2 separate regions of the Homo sapiens genome follow, and region 1 is linked to region 2. The links are contacts of gene promoters, found by promoter capture Hi-C in blood cells and fetal thymus (Javierre and others, 2016). All regions are on one chromosome and are shown on one strand. The core of a region is centred on a gene start or on the middle of the fragment in contact, and the rest is flanking DNA. Distances in the headings are between cores, read along the strand shown.

What was found. The method cuts DNA at HindIII sites, captures the fragments that hold promoters and counts their contacts. A CHiCAGO score of 5 or more calls a contact.
Region 1: a contact is called between the fragment with the promoter of QDPR here and the fragment with the promoter of ZCCHC4 in region 2, in 1 of 17 cell types (non-activated CD4 T cells). The highest score is 7.9, in non-activated CD4 T cells.

Annotation. Positions count from the first base shown.
Region 1 is chr4:17,510,761-17,513,460 of GRCh38, forward strand. It overlaps QDPR (quinoid dihydropteridine reductase), which reads right to left and starts at 1,330. Exons shown (of 7, transcript NM_000320.3): 1 at 1,190-1,330. The coding sequence starts at 1,294. RefSeq lists a silencer at 959-1,538. The HindIII fragment of the contact is 4,464 bases long and covers 1-2,355 here.
Region 2 is chr4:25,311,473-25,314,172 of GRCh38, forward strand. It overlaps ZCCHC4 (zinc finger CCHC-type containing 4), which reads left to right and starts at 1,302. Exons shown (of 13, transcript NM_024936.3): 1 at 1,302-1,464; 2 at 2,574-2,692. The coding sequence starts at 1,338. RefSeq lists enhancers at 956-1,832, 1,361-1,420 and silencers at 1,081-1,150, 1,158-1,362. The HindIII fragment of the contact is 7,197 bases long and covers 1-2,700 here.

The DNA of each region.
Region 1 (2,700 bases), core at 80-2,579, 7.8 Mb before region 2:
ACTCTGGTACTGGGAACACAGTGCCTGGCCCTTGGCAGAAGTGCTGCCTCTGTCACCACCATGCATCTCTGAAGACCTGGGAAAGCGCCCTCATCAGTGTCCCCAAGCACTGAGCAGATGGGTGGCAGGAAGGGAGTGGTGTGACTGAATTCTTCAGAAGCATATTCCTGTACCAGATTCTGAGCAACAAGAAAACCTTGGTAAATGTACACTATTTGGGTGATGGTTACACTAAAAGCCCAGACTTCACCACTACACAACATATCCATGTAACTAAACTGTACTTTTGCCCCCTTCATCTATAAAAATTAGATAGTTTTTTTTTAAAGAAAATCCTGAAAGCCTTTTTCTGGTCCCAGGGGAACTCTTGCCCAGGCTGCTGTGCTGCTGCTGCTAACTAAGCTCCCAGAACGCTGCCGCTGGCAGTGTCTCCACCGGGAAATTGCTGAGGCCTGCTGAGCGGCTGAGGTCAAGGGTCTTTGGCCATGTATCAGCTCTGCTCCGACTTGCCGCCTCCTGGAAATTGACACCTGACTATGCAAAGTAGTTGAAATAGTCTTTGCAGAGCAAAGAAGCCGTCAGCGTTTTTCCGTGCTGAGCCTTCAAACTGTCAGATCCAATGGGGCTAAAAGAACAGGGGTGGGTAGTAATAGTAACATTAATAGACAGCATTTAAACAGTTTTTACCAGGCGTCAGGTAATTTATGTGCAACGACACCAATTATCTCATCTAATCGTCCCAACTCTCACTGTCAGAATCTCCGTTGTACAAATGGGGAAACCGAGGTCCTACGGCGTTAGGTAATCAATACGCGGTCTCATGACTAGTAACCGGGACTGGGCTGTCTCATTCTAGAGCCTTCCTTCTACACTCTCTCTCCGTCCTCTCACCCCTGCTCCCGTTCCTCCCCTTTGGAATTCTCTCCCGAGTCACGCCGGACTTTTTGGGTCTGGCGGAGGCCCACGGAGCACCTCCTTGCACAGCAAAGGCCCAGCGCCCTGGGACTGGCGTGCGCACGCACTCGGAAACAGGAATAGACGCGTAGACCTGTGCGCGCACGTGCAAGCAACACGAGTCAGGGGGTGCACAGGGGCCCCCACCTTCCTCTAGACTGCCCCCCGCCGGGTTCCACACGAAAGCCCCCGGCCACCCCCGCGGAGACCCAGCAGCCCCAGCCCGCAGCATTACCCAGTTGCGGGCCCGAAAAGCCTGCACGCATCGAGAACCCAGAGCGCCCCTGCCGCCGTACACCAGCACCCGGCGCGCCTCGCCTGCAGCCGCCGCCGCCGCCATCCTGCTCCTGCCAGCCCGGCTCCCGCAGCTCCGAATGCCTCGAGCCGGAGCGCCGCGCCCCGCCCCGGCCGGCCAACCCCGCCAAGAGGGAACGCGCGGCGGCCGCGCCCCGCTCCGCGCCCGCTGCTGCCGCCTAGCGCGCTGCCACGCTCGGGGCGCCCCGCCACCCGGAGGGACTGTAACTTCGGCCAGGCCCTGCCCCTGGGACGGGGACATCGGCGAAGCCCCTCCTCCCACCCGCCAGCAAGTGCTGGGCCTCGGGGCGTGCAGCGAGCCGGGCTAAGGGCGAGGAGGGTGGAGAGCGGGTGTTTTACGAGCATTAATTTGTGAAGTGTAAGCATGTAAAATATAGTATAGTACAATTTTCGACCACTGTTTTGGCAATTTTTTATTTTTAATTGTGCATCAAAATAGAGATTTAAGTATTCCCACCTGCCAAAAAAACAGAAGAGGTCGCTCCGCTCAAGGAGCTGAAAGTCCACCGCCGAGACGAGACAAACCACACTAGGTCTTATTTCTTCTATCTAACCGTAAATTTATACCCATTAATCCAAATGGCCCTTTTACTATATGCCACCCATCGCCAGACACAGATCCTGGCATTTTCTCCCTTGTATATTAGTTATTTCTGCCCATGGCCTGTATCTTTAACACAGAGCCTCTCATCTACAGCACTACTGACATTTTGGGCCAGATAATTATTTGTGACAGGTGCTGCCCTGGGTACTGTAGGATATTTACAGCATCCCTGGCCTGCATATACTAGAAATCAATAGCAAACCCCTACCCCTCACTCATAAGAATCAAAAATATCTCCAGATTTAACAGTTGTCTCCTAGGGGCAAATTCATCACTGATAGAGAACCAGAGCTCTAACACTCTCATAACCTTCTTGATAGCAGAACCCTGTATTACATACATCTTTGTGTCACTTCCCATCCACATATAACCTTGTACACAGCAGACACAGATGTTTGTTCAGTAAACTTGTGCCAGGTAAAGCATGCAGAAATATGTCACTAGAGAAGAGGATGCAGCCAGCAGCACATTTTGTTGTCAGAAGCTTCATTATCAGAAATAGAACTGCTAGGAGGCTGGATGGAGAGGAGAGCACCATCTATTTAGTGCTCCTTATATCCAAGGCACTGCGCTAAGTGATCTGCCTGTGCTATTTCACTTTACTCCACACGATAATCCTATGCAGATTAGAAAGCTGAGGCATGAGAGTCACAGACACTTGTCTGGAAGAGTGGGAATTTGAACACAGGTCTTCAATAGCTAGAGTTCCACTTAACCACACCTTTGTTCAGCAAGACAAAGGCTTGTTGGGAATCAAGTGTTTCCCTTAGAGTTTTTCTGAAAACAATTGCTTAACCCTCAAAACACCAAAAGTTGACACAGGTCCC
Region 2 (2,700 bases), core at 52-2,551:
AGAACTGATATCTTTACTATGTTGAGTCTTCTGATTTATGAATGCAGTATGTTTCTGCATTTGTTTATTCTTTGATTTTTTTTTTTTTTTTTTAAGACGGAGTCTCACTCTGTCACCCAGGCTGGAGTGCAGTGGCACAATCTCGGCTCACTGCAAGCTCCGCCTTCCGGGTTCACGCCATTCTCCTGCCTCAGCCTCCCGAGTAGCTGGGACTACAGGTGCCCGCCACCACGCCTGGCTAATTTTTTTGTTTTTGTATTTTTAGTATTTTTAGTAGAGACGGGGTTTCACGGTGTTAGCCAGGATGGTCTCGATCTCCTGACCTTGTGATCCACCTGCCTTGGCCTCCCAAAATTCTGGGATTATAGGCGTGAGCCACCGTGCCCGGCTATTCTTTGATTTTTAAAAAACTTTAAAAATTGCTTATTTATTTTAGAGATGTCGTCTCGCTTTGTTGCCCGGGCTGGTTTCGAACTCCTGGATTCAAGCAATCCTCCCTCCTTGGCCCCCCAAAGTGCTGGGATTACAGGTGTGAGCCACTGCACTCAGCCTTGATTTTTTTTAATCAAGCATTTTGGAGTTTTTAGCATACATAAAGCTCTGTACATATTTCGTTAGATTTACACCTATTTCATTTATTTGAGTGATTGTAAGTGGTATTCTATTTTTTAGTGTTCTTGTGATCATTGCTAGTATTTAGAAATCCAGTTGATGTTTGTGTGTTTATCTCATATCCTGCAACCTTGCTGAACTCAGTTTAAACCGGAGGTGTTTTCCTGATAGATTCTTTCGGATTTTTAAAATGTGGACAATCATGTCATCTGCAAATCAGGACGGTTTTCTTTCTTTCTTATGTATAAATGTCAATGAGTATGCAACTATGATGTGCAACTTTCAGCATTGTCCAAAAGTTACAGAGGATGATGCAGTGACTGTGACTTTGAAAAACAAAGAATGATCCTTAAATCACAGCTGCTGCAGCCATTTCAGCTATTTGGCAGAGGTGGTAATGCTGCCTTTTGGACCTACAATACAACCAAGTCTTTGTTCGAATCATCTCACTTCCTGGCTATATTCTTAAGAAAGGAGGGTGCTTCATGCGCTGAGCTCATGGCACAGGTCCCGCAAGTGACCTGCGAGCCCCACCGCTAGGGGCCGCTTAGGTGCAGCCCCCAGGTGGGCGGGGACTGCGTTTCGGGGCGTGGCCTCCGCCGCGGCAGCCCCCGCCCAAGCTCCTCCTAAGCGCCTGGGGGCGCTGTGGGTCGCTTTGGGTCGCGGGGGCGCTCTTTCTCAGCATTCTTGTTTCGTACTGAGGCTTTCGGGACGGCGGCGGGAAGATGGCGGCCTCCAGGAATGGGTTTGAAGCCGTGGAGGCAGAGGGCAGCGCAGGGTGCCGGGGAAGCTCGGGAATGGAGGTGGTGCTTCCTTTGGATCCTGCCGTCCCCGCCCCGCTGTGCCCTCACGGTGGGTCAGAGTCTGGGCTCAGCCTAACTGCCGGGCGCTGAGGGTGTGAGTTGGCTTGGAAGTGGCTTTTGGGGCTCCTGTATTTTTACCCGCCTCTTTCCCTCACCAGTGTGCTGCCTAGAAAATACTCCTTCCTCGGAACGCGGTGTTTTTCAACTTACTTGAGAAACATTCAGAGCAAGTCTCCACTCTTGTGGTTTTGGCTCCAGGACTATTTCATCTCTTTTGGGGGGAAGGGGCAGAAAAGTAGGCAAAGAGAAGAATGCATGGTATTGAATAGTTCTCGTTGACAAGTACTTGGGGATTTCATTTGTTGATTTGCTCTCCCTTCAAAAATAAAAAATTAGGGAGAAAAACAGTGTAATTCTTGCCTGCGAACTAGACTCAGTTTTTCTCTAACTTACAGAAAGTGGGCGTTTCCAGCTCAAAGCTCAGGTTTTCACTGCAAGGGTAACCGCGCAAGAGATGTCAAAGTCCTCAATTCTCTGAGTCCCTTCCTTGTTTTAGTCTCAGGTTTGTAATATTCACAACGTAGACAGCAACTGTACCGACAATAGCATTTTCTTTCTGAAGAGACCGGTTTTCAAAAATTATTTATAAGTAGTCACTGCCGGAATGTTGTAACAGAGAGAAAAGAAACATTCATTAAACACAGAGAAGCCGGCGTGGTGGCGTGCACCTGTAGTTCCAGCACTTGGGGGGCCGAGGCGGGCTGATCGCTTGAGCCCAGGAGTTTGAGACTAGCCCGGGCAAAAATGATGACACTCCGTCTACAAAAAAAGAAAAACAGCTGGGGACACGCAACTGTAGTCCCAGCTACTCGGGATGCTGAGGCGGGAGAATCGCTTGAGGCTAGGAAGCAGGATCTCAGTGAGCCATGATTGTGCCAGTGCGCTTCAGCCTGGGCGACAGAGGGAGACCCTGTCTCAAGAAAACAAAACAAAAAACCCTAACAAAACAAAAAACAACCAACCAAAGAGATGGATTTAATTATGATAAATTGTGCCTAAAGCTCAAACAAATTTTATTTAAGGGCAGCGAAAACTAAGAACTTGACGTAGATGACCATTACTTGACACTTTTTTTTTTTTTTTCTATTCTGGAACTAGGACCCACTCTTCTGTTTGTAAAGGTGACCCAAGGGAAAGAAGAAACTCGGAGGTTTTATGCCTGTTCAGCCTGTAGAGATAGAAAAGACTGTAATTTTTTTCAGTGGGAAGATGAAAAGGTATATCA